2 separate regions of the Homo sapiens genome follow, and region 1 is linked to region 2. The links are contacts of gene promoters, found by promoter capture Hi-C in blood cells and fetal thymus (Javierre and others, 2016). All regions are on one chromosome and are shown on one strand. Each heading gives the region's core, a stretch centred on a gene start or on the middle of the fragment in contact. The rest is flanking DNA. Distances are from core to core; before and after follow the strand shown.

Region 1 (7,192 bases), core at 4,342-6,841, 820 kb after region 2:
CCCCATCATAGCTAGACTGGAGGGCTGCAGCAAGAGGCACTAAATGAACACGACGTCTGCTACAAAACCACCTCCCTGTTTTACATGAAACTAAATGCCTTTTACACGAGTTCCTCAAAAAGCAACTCAATTAACTTCACTGGTGCAATTACATGAGGTGTGACGGGAAGAATATTCCCAGAAGCTTGCTTTAGTCCCAGCGAGTTTTAGGTAATGCTTAGTTGCCTAGAGAAAGGGGAAGACACTATTTCAACCTTTCAGACAGTGAGGTTTAAAGGAGCCACTGACTGGTTTATATGAATCATACAGCATCTCAGGGAACCTCCACTCACTAAAGCATCTCATCTCTTTATGCCTGGTTAACCTGTGTTCCGTCTCTCTCACCTACCCATACTCCAGGCTTTCCATTTTGCCACTGTCCTTAGGATCAGTAAAAACTTGGAGACGTCAATAACTGAGTCATTTTTGTTAAAAATATACATCATAAAATTCCAGGTAGCTCGTATTTTACTAATGAAATCTGTGGTTTTTTTTTTTTCCTTGCATGACAGTTCATTTTTAACGTGCTGGATTTTCCGATGAAAGCCTGAAACCTGCACATCTGAAGATGCCTTCGCCATGATGCAATGGATGCCAAACACGACATACACCCTTGGGACGGTGACCTCAGCCATCTGCAACAAGGCTCTCAGAACCAGTCCTTTGACTATAAAAAAAGCAGCAGCTTTCACTAACCAAGCATCTTTAATCCAAGCCAAATTACAGAACTCTCTAACTTAGAGGTGATCGTCCATACGGCAGATCATTACAACATGAAAAACGTAAGCTAAGATGTTGAACACAGCCAGAACTGAAAATAAAAGAGCTTTCTAAAACAAATCAATGTTGCTCTAGGTTGTGTTTGCTTTCTTTCCATAGACAGCTGTTCAAAACATGACAAGCTACAACAGGGCCACGATCTTGCCAGGGGTTTCAGCAGAACTGGGTGGACACAGAAGATAAATGTGAACAGCTCTGCCATACAGCTCAGTTTTTACTGGGGCCACTCATTAAAGTAAAGCAACATGGCACAATTTTGGTCCAGGTTCCTGGTCTTGGACAGGTCTCTTCTCCTAATTATCAGTTTTTCTGTTACTAAGGTGCTGCAGGCTCTGGCTGTCTTCCCAGGATTGGTCTGTTGGGTTAACTAATCACTATGTAAATGTTTTCAAAATAAGTTGAGAGTGTTATATAAACATCAAAGCCTCAGAAAAGAAACACCAAGTTGTTATGCAAAGCCACAGGAGTTAAGAATTTAGACAAGGCCAACACTTCGCTAACAAGATTCACTTAGAGTCCACCAGTTAATTGTCAACTAAGATCTGCTGAGAATCCCCAAGGTGCTCCAGGATTTTCAGTGTTGCGGTAGCTCTTAGTCTCACTCTGAGTTTTACAGTCCCCTGGGCTGTTATCTGACCGACCTCATAAAAGCAAGACTCTTCTTTTGCTTGATTTTGCATATATGTTTAAAAACTCAAAAGCGAAAGAATTCTAACACTTCCCTTTTTAAAAATTATTTTTAAGGGGCGGGGATTTGTCCATCTTAAACCAATGAAAGAGAGGAATAAAACACTGATGTACTGAGAAGCCCTGATCTTATCCACGGTGTCGAATTTGATATACTATCATGCCCCACTCTTTGGGAGGTCATTGGATTTTCACTAAATCAAACCTCTTTCATTTTATGGCAGCTTTCTTTTCTTTATCTCTTTATTTCATCTCCTTCCTTCTCAAAACACTGTGCTTGACTGAAGGGGAGACAAGCACCACCCCTGTGGAACAAATGCTCACGCTGAAACATCCAGGAGATGTTACGCATGGTGACAAGTTGTCAGTGCTCATCTGGCACAGAAGGCATTTTTACTGGTTGATATTATTTCCCAAATGTTCATCAGTAATTTCATGTGCAAGAATTTTTTTCTCCCCACTTGGCAGAAAGTTCTTTAATGGTAAGATCCACGCTCCTATTTCTTTTATATCTTCCCCCAAATGCATACTACAGTCAGTCTGTTCTTCAAGCCAGGGATTTGGTAAATATCATGGATTGACTTCCTGTATGGATCACTCCTTGAGAGGAAACGTACCCTAAATGAGGTCTACAGAAATGGGCATATGAAAATTTTGGAATGCCCATCTCATCCACCTACACACCTCCACTTCCCCCATCCCACCCTTTCTCAAAGGCATTTTCAGCCTCCTAAGCAAGAAGTAGAAAGCCAACACCAACTGCCAATCTGTAACATGCAGCGCTGTCTGAAGTTTAATTCAATAGGCTAGTAATTAAGTAAATGGATTCACAAACTTCGACTGCATTGTCTTGCTATGGGATGAAACTTTGGAGGAGAATCTATACTAAAACCTTTCTCAAGTCCCCTCGATTACAGCATGAGAATAACAATATCCATCTGGAAGGTTTGTTCTGAGAGTTAAATGTGGCAAGCAAGCGAGAGTGGCTAATTCCAGAGAAAGCTGATACAAGAGGGAATTTAAGATAACCAAAAGAATACCTGCAGCTACAAAGGAGTGGTAAACTGAAGAGGAGGTAACAAGTGAATTATCTACAGATCTACCTCCAAAGAAGCAAAGCAGGAGATGTGAAATGCTATAGAACAGACTGAGAATGGGCAGGGAGTGTACTATGTATATAAACATCATTATATAACTAAATGATAATGGCAGCAGGTAATGTTCAGAGCTTCCTCTATCTTTAAAAGCAGGTTATTGATAAATTTAATGTCAAATAAAAGCAGAAAGCTGCACTGTAACTGGGAATTACTTCTGAACATTTACTATGAGTCTGGCCTAAACTAAGTACTTTATGTATATCATCTCATTTAATCCTCCCAAATCTTAGAAGTGGATCTTCTCATTTTCCCACGCAAGATGTAGAAATTGGGGCTTGGCAAAATTAAGCCACTGTCCAAGGAGACAGCATTAATCTCCTTGAACAAAATGGGGGTGGAGCCAAGATTTGCACTCTAGTGTGACACTGAATTATATTATCCCTCAATCCTACACATGCACACAGAACACATGAATGAGACCTCTGAAATGATGCCATTGGCAAACCACTTATCTCCACCTTTATGTGTTAGCCAGTTGAACAGTACTAAGCAGTAGAAATCCCCACACAACACTCCATGGCCACAAACTTTTCCAAATTGGAATTGAGAAGCAGAGTTCCTTCCTTCCTACCTCCCTTGATCCATTTATTGAATAATTATAGCCTACAAGGCACCAGGGATATACAGATAGAATACACATTCCCTTTTTTTTCTAAAGCAGCTTTGGGATTTAGGGCATGAAAGAAAGAAATTCTTATATAAAAATGATCATGAAGTGTCCCATGTCTTCAATAATGGGCATTGCCCAGGAATTGGTAATTCGTAAATGACTTCCCCTGAATAAACACTTAAGTATGTATAATCTGTGCAATCCAGTGCTTTTCAGGGTCAGATCCTAACTGGTACCCACCAGAGGCAGGAGTCTTACTCAGAGATTAAGAAAGTTACATTTTGAGCGAGAAATTCTACTTCAAATTGCAAAGAAGAGCTCCAGTGTTACGAAGCCTGCCATAATAAACCTGGGCCTCTCCTCACCATCTACCTTTCCAGTCAAATTGTCAGAAGGCTTTATGACTCTTTCGGAATGAAAGAACCAGTATGGGCAATATTTTGGAGTTCTAACTGGGGATGGTTAAATAAGAAGCAGATGCACAGAACCATTAATCAAAACATTTACCACTCAATAACCACCCATAATGACAATTATTCTGAGCATTTTCCTTCCAAATAACTCAAAATAAGGCTGCCAAAATGCTGCCGACTCTGACAGTGGTGTTCATTACCCCAGCTGATGAAATCACAGTGCCAAATAGGACTGCAAACTAAATAGGTGGAGGTGTGGCTAGAATCATGAGTGGACATGTGGATTTATGAACTTTTCAGTGTTCAACCAAGGTACAGAAAGGAGCTTGTAACAATGACACCCCAGCTAAAGGGGACGTCTGTTCTGGGCCAGAGGGAGTGAAAAAGGGACAAAGTCTGGCGAGTGAAAAGGGGACAAAGTCTGGCAAGTGAAAACCAAGTAATAAATATGCACAATGCTAGAGCCCCTAGCCCAGGCCTTTTATTTCGCATCCAGATGGTTCAGCAGCTGAAGAGCTCTGCGGAATGTCTGCATGCCCCTCTCGGCTCAGCTGCTTTCCTTGAGAGGGCATCATAATAGATGCTTTTGGACCTGTGTGCAGACATAGCTGTTGGGGGTCCACAGACTAGGCAGTGACCACCAGTGACTCATTTACTTACTCTACAGCTGACGTGATGAACACCGACAAACCCCACTTGGGCAAAGCTCTCCATTTATGCCTTTAGCTTTCACCATTTGGCAAGTCGGAGCCTAATAACGCCAATGATCAAATTAAAGTGCTCTTTTTCTTCTTTCTTTTCTGCAAATACTTTAATTGGCTGCACAGATTTTCAGGCTCACCATATTGGACTACTTTCAGTATAAAAGGAAAGAGTGACAAGGATAAATTCAAGTTTAGTAAAAGCTCAATAGAAAAAGCAGTTGCAGCCATTTACGAGTTTATATAGGAGAATACTTCCGCCAAAAACCAGTGCTGCTTAGCAGCAAACTGATTACTGTCAGAATGCCTCCTCTCTGCTCAGTGTCTCACTTCTAGCTGGATACCAAAAGCACAACAATATCACTGTGAATGAAATCATGATACAAAAATATAACACGAAAGCTTAAATGCACAGGAAGAAAGTCACATTAAATACATTTGAAAAAATGGCTGGGAGCGGGGGCTCATGCCTGTAATCATAGCACTTTGGGAGGCTGAGGCAGGTGGATCACAAGGTCAGGAGATCGGGGCCATCCTGGCTAACACGTTGAAACCCTGTCTCTACTAAAAATACAAAAAAAAAAAAAAAAATAGCTAGGTGTGGTGGCGCACACCTGTAATCCCAGCTACTCGGGAGGCTGAGGCAGAAGTGTTGCTTGAACCTGGGAGGCAGAGGTTGCAGTGTGCCGAGATCATGCCATTGCACTCCAGCCCAGGAGAGAGCGAGAGACTCCGTATCAAAAAAAAAAAAAAAAAGAAAGAAAAAGAAAAATAACAACCTTTGTCAACTACACTATAATATTTAACTAAGGGAATCCTATCAGCGTTTATTCGAAAATGTAAGCAACCTTTATTATTTTACTATCCTGAAGGATGTAATAAACCCATGCTTTTGTTCAACCTAATAACTGGTAGATTACCCAATCAAGTAGTTAACTCAGGTTAGCTACAGGAAAAAAAAAACAAAAAACAAAAAACACAACAACAAAAAAACGCCATTAGCCTGGCACAATGTGCATTCAGTAACCTGTAATCAACTACTAAGTAAATTACAGAAGCAGAAAACAGAGCTGCATGTTTGTTACAAAAAAAAAAAAAAAGGAGAAAGCTTATAACAACTTCCACTTCTTAAGCCATATTGACTCACATTAATTTAGGATGCCTGAGGCTATGAGTATGGTACCCTGAGGTGTAAGTGAAGGTGATCTTCTCTTCTCACGTCTATGAACAATATTTTCCCAACTTTGTTTTTAAAGTGAGAATTAGGGTATAGATAGATGCTTTGTAATTTTTCCATCCAAAAGCTTGAATAAATGGTTAATTGCTGACTTAAATTGCAATAAAGAAGTGTCCTAATTTCAAACAAGGATGCTCACTTTCAGAATCTCATAATCTTTTCAAAATTCTATTTTATTCATAAATAGGATAAAAATCTTTTTGCAAGCTTCACTAAGTCTCTCCATAAGCCCCTGCCCAACAGATGCAAGTTCAATAGCTAGAATTCAAACCAGATAATTTATTGGCTTACAAATGAATTGGCATCTATAAAAATAAGCCTTCTAAAAAGGCTTCACGCTGTTTAAATCCTTCTAAAATGCTCTGGCTAAGCTTGCCCACCCTTTATCAATGTAAGACTGATAAAATGCATTTTCATTATCAACATAAAATGGAAGCATCAAGATAGTTGAAATGTTAGTTTAGAAAGTCATTTGCAGTGACATTTAAAACAATTTATTTGAACATTTGACTCATGATAAGAATACTGCCTATTACATTAAGATTGGCTGTTCAGAATTCACTGGAGCCCTATTCTCCCCCTCTGTGACAGTTAACATCTTTTGATATTAAGGGTCATTACACATCTAAAATGAAAAAGAAATAAGAAAAAAGAACCCCACGCCATTCTGAGCAAGTGCCTATTAAAATGACTGATCCTTGACATTTTAATGCAGACTGTATGATGGCTTCCTCTCTATTGCCCCCTGTGAAGCCTTTCCCTGTATTGGTAATAACTTTGCCGATGTCCAACCCTGTGGAACATTCATCCTACCTTTTCCCCACTCTGCAGAATGCTTCCCTCTAAAGAATCACCAGAGAACAGGGAAAATAAACAAATCTGCAAACAAATTCCCGGGCAGTTCACATCACCTCCCAAAGGACACTGACAATAGCTGAAGAGACCACAACACACAAACTCGTTTTTCAGCCAGCCTGTAATGTTCCTCCTATACACACTCTGGAAATCCTCAGCTCCCTTCAACTCCGGAGCAAGAGCCACCAATATTCCAGGTCAGCCACCTATATAATATGCTCACCACGAGAGAAGACTCAAGGTAAAATTAAACTGACAGAAAAAAGGAATTTTCCTTGTTAGATCATCAAGCCTCCGGAATCATGCAAACATGTGTGTATGTTATGGTGTTTACGGGGACCTAACTGAGAAACGTCGTGGTTCCAGGGGCTTCCCTCATGTGTCAGGATGGACTTTATCAGGATTCTCATCCTACAAAGCTACCATGTCAGTCACAAAAGACAACTACGCAATCTGTTTCGATGTAATAAATTCAGGAGTTGAGCTGTATGGCAAGCCCATCTTAGAAGTCCTCAACACCAGGAGAGGATCTGTCCTAGTTAGGAGCAGAAAGCAGATCTCATAATATCCAAGTTGTCTGGAAACATGATATATGGTAGGGCAGTCTTTCCAGCTCCCATTTTGTTGGTGCCTTCACCTCGGGTTGTCAGGGCTGGGGTTAGGGAAATTGCCTCTTTCCGTCTCTATCTCTTTTAACTTCGCAGCGAGAGCTG
Region 2 (6,289 bases), core at 2,628-5,127:
CCCCCGAGCCCGGTGCGGGCCGAGCAGTTCTCCGCACCTCCGGTAAAGGTGCAGGACCGGGTGATGGTCTCTGCAGCAGTCAGAAGGCTCCTCTCCCAGCCCAGGAACGTCTGCAATAAATTGCTTCCATGTGCGGGCTTCCCGCTTCCTCTTTCTCTCTCAGGGTTAATGTGGGAAAAGGGAAGTGGCTTTTTTTTTTTTATTTTGAAAATTAGCTTTAGGGCAAAGTCCTGCCAAGTGTGTAGTTCAATACCCCATATTATAGGTGAGGACACTGAGCTCCAGAGAGATCAGATTCCAGGTCACACTGCTGGTGCGCCGCCAAACCAGGTGGAGAACGCTGGTGCCTCCGCTCCTTGGGCATTTTGACTCCGGCATTCATGATTGTTTTCCCTTCTTTAATACCCACTACAGCAAAAATTTTGTTGCTGTTTCCCTCTGTTAAGAATTATTAAAACTTGGAGGAGGGGAAGCAAAAAGTTCTTTCAATATTAAATTAAAGCACTGTCTAACGAGCCCATCTGAGAGTCATTTGGCTATCTAGGGGAAGGTAGCTTTGACTTATTTTTTACTATAAAATAGAGTCCAAACGTTCTTAACTCTGAAATTAGTTAGGCCAGGAGCCCCGGCTCATGCCTGTAACCCTAGTACTTTGGAGGCCAAGATGGAAGGATTGCTTGAGGCCAGGAGTTCAAGACTAGTGTGAGCAACATAGCAAGAGTCCCATTATCGATTTTAAAAAATAAAATAACATGAGATAGTACTGTGTAGAAACTATTAAAATGTAAGTGCTGTCTGGGTACGGGAGCTCACGCCTATAATCCCAGCACTTTGAGAGGCTGAGGTGGGCTTGAGCTCAAGAGTTTGAGACCAGCCTGTGCAACATGGCGGCAAAACCCCTTCTCTACAAAAAATACAAAAATTAGCTGGGCATGGTGGTGTGTGCCTGTAGTCCCAGCTACTCTGGAGGCTGAGGTGGGAGGATGGCTTGAGCCTAGGAGGTGGAGGTTGCAGTAAACCAAGATCATGCTACTGCACGCCAGCCTGGGGGACAGAGCCAGATACTGTCTCAAAAAAAAAAAAAAAAAAAAAAAAGTAAGTGTTTTTCTGTTCTACAGAGATGCAAATGATTCCTATCTGGTCAGATAAATTACCTCAAAGGTTATAGTTTTGCTGCCCTGTAGCACATTAGCCAGTTTAGTATCTAACTTTGTGATCTTACGTCAGCATTCCTTTTCGTTCTCTGAGTACACAAAATCTTTATTCTCGTAATATCTTTGAACCAGTGTTGCCACCTTGCAAAGTCCCTTATGAATGAGTTACCTACCTCACCGATACATACTCACCATATCTTGTCAAGGCTTCATATTCCTTTCCCTGTATAGTCCCCACAAATATACACTGTCAGCTTTCAATGCACACCAAGCGCCCATTATTGATTCTTTGTCCCGAGTGGCTCCTCTGGAGCATATGCGTAACATCAGGGGGACATAGGGCTTTTAATTGTCAAAAGTATACAAACTCAGCACGTTATTCCAAATAATCTCTGCCCCTGCTCCCTCACATTTTGATCATGCCGTATCTGTGATCTGGGGCTGGGGACTCTGGCCCTCAAGATGCCTCCAATGCTCTCGGCCCCTGCTAAGAGCCTCTGCCCACACACGGGGTCATGCGCATAACCTTAGAACTCTGGGCACGGCTAGATGAACTGTGGCACGCACCTGATCTAGGCAGCAGCCCACTTCCCAGTTGGTCAGCCAGTGAAGGAAGGCTCAGCCCCACCAGGCCAGTGAGATTCTCCGTCTTGGCAAATTGCTTAAAGACTTGATAGTAAAGGAGAAAGAGATAAAGCAGGCACCTGAGGCCCCGAAGCAGCAGACACTTAAATAAGCAGCAGGAAGAAGGTCCTGGCAGAGACAGAACACCTGAGTTTTCCACATGGCACACGGACCTTGGAGGCACAGAGGGATGGGCCCCGCTACTGAGTGGCAAGAAGACGAAATGTCTGTGTCGTAGAACTGTGTGTGATCTTGAAAGACCTCTCGGTTCGTGAATGGCATCTTGGGTTCTGTCAGGCTCCACACAGGTTCTACTGCTCCTCTTCCTCCAACAGGCTGAGCTGTGTGACTTTTCCAGGGTTGCCATCCGACCTGTCATTTGGTCTGTGGCCCTTAGTTTCTTATCCACATGTGGCTGTAAAAGAAACTCCACAATCCTGGAGGGAACTCAGTGGGTCCCTACTTCCAATCCAAAAACCTCGACTCACTCTTTTACTTTTTCTAATAACTTAATAAGTTAAATAATAATAAAAGAATTGTTACCGTTGTTCAGCCAACTCTTTCCGGGCTCATCAACGATTTTCTAGGAAAGAAGGTTTCCTTGGTTAGACCTGCACTTCCTCTCTGTCTCTCTCCATTCATGTTTGAGCATTCATTCATTCTCCCCACAAGCACATCATGGATTCTAAAATGAAGAAGGCAATATTCGTACTTTGAAGATGCTCACATCTTGCATGTGCAGTGTTACAAGAGTGGGGTTGGTGCAGGAGTGAAATGGGAGGCCGTGTCCCGAGATGGGGTCACCAGAACCTGGAGTGACAAGGTGGAGGTGGGGAGAGGAGCTTTTCCTCCTGGCTTTCCCACAAACACTGACTTCCATGCCTCTGGCCTGGAACCACATGTAACCAAAGCCATATGTTCAACTTGCGTTAATTAAATGGTGGCCTCAGCAACATTTCTGGTGCTGCTTCTGTTGCTTTGGCATTATGATGTCTTCAATATTTGTTACTGTGTGTCGTTTGTCATGTTTAACCCAGTGGCTCAGATTCTATTTGTTTGTAAAACTTAAATGTTGAGAGACTTCTGTTCTTGATTTTTTAGAAAATAAAAATTATTTTTGGTTTATTCCATGAGAACATATCTTCTATAGGTTGAACCTCCAAGGTTCTTCCTTCTTGATTTTTCTGGGAGATGACTGTAATTTTTTTTTTTTTTTGAGACGGAGTTTCGTTGCTGTTGCCCAGGCTGCTGGAGTGCAATGGTGCAATCTCAGCTCACCGCAACCTCCGCCTCCCGGGTTCAAGGAATTCTCCTGCCTCAGCCTCCCAAGTAGCCGGGACTACAAATGCGTGCCACCACGCCCAGCTAATTTTTGTATTTTTAGTAGAGATGGGGTTTCACCATGTTGGTTAAGCTGGTCTTGATCCACCTGCCTCAGCCTCCCAAAGTGCTGAGATTATAGGCGTAAGCCACTGTGCCTGGTGTAATCTTAACTGCTTTTTAGGAAATGGTGTAAGAAAAGGCTGTGCCATAAACTCAAAATCCTACTAATCCCCAGTTCTCAGCCCCAAACCGAAGAAAGATTACATTTCCAGTCCAGTTTCTAATCCCAAGTATCCATGCACCCAGGATGGCGGGAAAAGGGAAAAGGCGGTACCTTAAATGAGGGAAGGACATCTCAGTCTTGGCCAGTTCTTACTCTTCCCAGGGGCCACCCTCAAGCCCCACCCTGAGCAGGTAAGTGAGGCAGGCAGGCAGCCTGGGAGCATGTGTGGGAGGGAATCCAACGGTGTTCTCCAGGCTGCAAGAGCTGGGCAGACACAATCGTGCTGCAGCCCTGGCCTGTGTTTTTCTTTCCCACAAAGACCAACACCGGTGCTGCTGACATCATGACAGGTTTGATCATTTTTATTTTGCGGTGAGCGTGGTGTCATGGTGATGAAGAGTCCTGTGAGCTTGTGCAGGTCCCCTCAACTGCAGGCTGTCCAGGCTTCCTCCTCTACAGTAAAGACAAGGAGAATGGCTGCTTCCTAAGGTGATGGCGAGGTAGGATGAGGAGTGTAAACGGCCCACCCTGCTCCCAGTGGTAACTATGGGTATGATTTCCTTTTGGGAGAAGACAGAGATTGCCCTTCTGATCCTCCCAGCTGTAAATTTGGGCTGGGGCAACTTTTAGACACAAACAGGGCACTCCTGGCTACAGGGCCTCAATGTTTTCCTTGAGGTGGAGTATCTAGGCATTTCCCTGAGGTTTCTGATGCCTGGGCAGGGTGGGGTGGGGTGTGGCTGGTTCTGACAGCTGTTCCCCACCCAGCTTTGTGCCCTGGGGAGGGAGATCTACCTGCACATCCCGCTGCACTGGATCTGCAGGGAGCTGGGGCTGCCCTTGGACGCCTCAGGCACAGGCCCTCATCCTCTGCCTAACTGCTTTTTACACCCATCCCTTGAGTCCAGGGAGATTTTGCCACAATTTCAAAAAAGAAATGATTATTCAGAAGGCATTCTTCTATATATTTCCTTTTTTTTTTTTTTTGAGATGGAGTTTCGCTCTGTCACCAGGCTGGAGTGCAGTGGCATGATCGGCTCACTGCAACCTCCGCCTCATGGGTTCAAGCGATTCTCCTGCCTCAGCCTCCCGAGTAGCTGGGACTACAGGTGCATGCCACCACGCCCAGCTAATATTTTAATTTTTAGTAGAGATGGGGTTTCACCATGTTGGCCAGGATGGTCTTAATCTCTTGACCTCGTGATCTGCCCGCCTCAGCCTCCCAAAGTGCTGGGATTACAGGCATGAGCCACCGTGCCTGGCCACATTTCTGTATATCTTGCAAGCAGACACACTGTCTGTCTTTTATTTGATCATCTTTCCAAGGATGCTGGTATAGCATGTATGCTTGGAAAATAGAGATGCTGTTTCTCCAGAGAAAGGGGGAGCTTGCTTGCATTCTTCTATGTAGTTCTAAGGCCCCTGCTCCACTGTACAGCAAGTGGCCACACCCTTAGTGTCTTCCTTGCCTAACCCAGACCCTTACAGCACTCAGCTTGGAAAAGACCCTTGCAGCGCTCAGTTGGGTGCCATGATTATGCCTGTAATCCCAGCACTTAGGGAGGCCAAGGTGGGTGGGTCACTTGAGCCTGGGAGTTTGAGACCAGCCTGGGCACCATGGCAAAACGCCATCTCTAAAAAAAAAAAAAAAAAAAACCACAAAAATTAGCCAGGCATGAGGATGCACCTGTAGTCCCAGCTACTGGGGAGGTTGCTGCAGTGGGAGGATTGCCTGAACCCAGGGAGGTTGAGGCTGCAGTGGGCTGTGATTGTGCCACTGCACTCTATCTTGGGTGACAGAGTGAGACCCTGTCTCAAACGAAAACAAAATTTCAAAAAAAAAAAAAAGAATGCATTCTTGCCCTTAGAGGCTCCATCCTCACCTCCCTCTTCTGGTTTCTCTTCCTCTGTCTCTGCTGTGTGTGTCTTTAATAAAGAACACTGAAATTAGTGAGCCAGGTTTGCCTCCTGGGCAGGAATTATGAAATCCAGGTGGCCTTGGTTGTAATAGGGGGAAAAAAAAACCTTTATTTTGTCTGCTTAGTGTTGTCCTGGCTTTTCTTTGCATATTCCGTCCCCCTACCCCCAAACTCACTGTGCTGTTCTGGTGAGGCTGACCCCACCCAGATTCAGGACTGACCCAGGCCTGGCCAATCAACAAGGCCTTCAGGGACTGGTACGTGTCAGTTAAATGAGTCAGTCCCAGGACGCTTTGTATATATATGTATGTAATATTTGTAACTATTGGGAAAGTGTCTAGCTTTCCACAGGAACTTCTAACCTGTTCCAGTGTGACCCTAAGGATGCCGGTAGCCATCTTGCCACTCTCGGGAGAGGAAGAGCCACAGAGACAAGGCAACTCTGAGAGCTGAGTCCTGATGACCGGTCGAAGCACCCGAATTCAGCAGTATGTGAAGCCCCTGAACTTCCAGTTATATGTGCTGATGAATTATCTTTTTTGCTGAAGTCCATTTGAATTGGAGTTTATATCATTTGCAATTTAAAGAGAACTGATCACCAGCTGGCTCAAGTCTGAAGTATAAACTGGTTTCTAGCAATCAAAAGCAATGTGTGACCAGCACAGTGGCTCCAGCCTGTAATCCCAGCACTTTGAGAGGCTGAGGAGGGAGGATCACTTGAGGCCAGGAGTTTGAGACCAGCCTGGGCAACATAGCTGGACCCCATCTCTAAAAATACGTAAATTAAAAATAATTTTTTTTTTTTTGAGACGGAGTTTCACCTTTGTCACCCAAGCTGGAGTGCAATAGCACGCTCTCGGCTCACTGCAAATCTCCGCCTCTCGAGTTCAAGCAATTCTCCTGCCTCAGCCTCCGGAGTAGCTGGGATTACAGGCATGCACCACCACGCCCGGCTAATTTTTTTGTATTTTTAGTAGAGACAGGGTTTCACTACGTTGGCCAGGCTGTTCTCGAACTCCTGACCTCAGGTGATCCGCCTGCCTCAG

The links. Contacts are between HindIII fragments. The CHiCAGO score rates a contact against its expected background, and 5 or more counts as called.
Region 1: a fragment that was not itself captured here is called in contact with the fragment with the promoter of LINC01588 in region 2 in 1 of 17 cell types (non-activated CD4 T cells); the score reaches 5.2 in non-activated CD4 T cells.

What each region holds. Positions count from the first base shown.
Region 1 is chr14:50,822,631-50,829,822 of GRCh38, forward strand. The region is part of intron 2 of NIN (ninein); the gene reads right to left. LOC105370489 (a long non-coding RNA gene) reads left to right here. Exons shown (of 2, transcript NR_135258.1): 2 at 552-879. Among named protein-coding and RNA genes, the nearest start is that of NIN, 4.9 kb to the right of the region's middle. The HindIII fragment of the contact is 196 bases long and covers 5,494-5,689 here.
Region 2 is chr14:50,003,643-50,009,931 of GRCh38, forward strand. LINC01588 (long intergenic non-protein coding RNA 1588) reads right to left here and starts at 3,878. Exons shown (of 4, transcript NR_126498.1): 1 at 1,952-3,878. It overlaps LINC01599 (long intergenic non-protein coding RNA 1599), which reads right to left. Exons shown (of 9, transcript NR_131171.1): 9 at 3,671-3,777. RefSeq lists a silencer at 1-14 and an enhancer at 5,716-6,216. The HindIII fragment of the contact is 14,705 bases long and covers 1-6,289 here.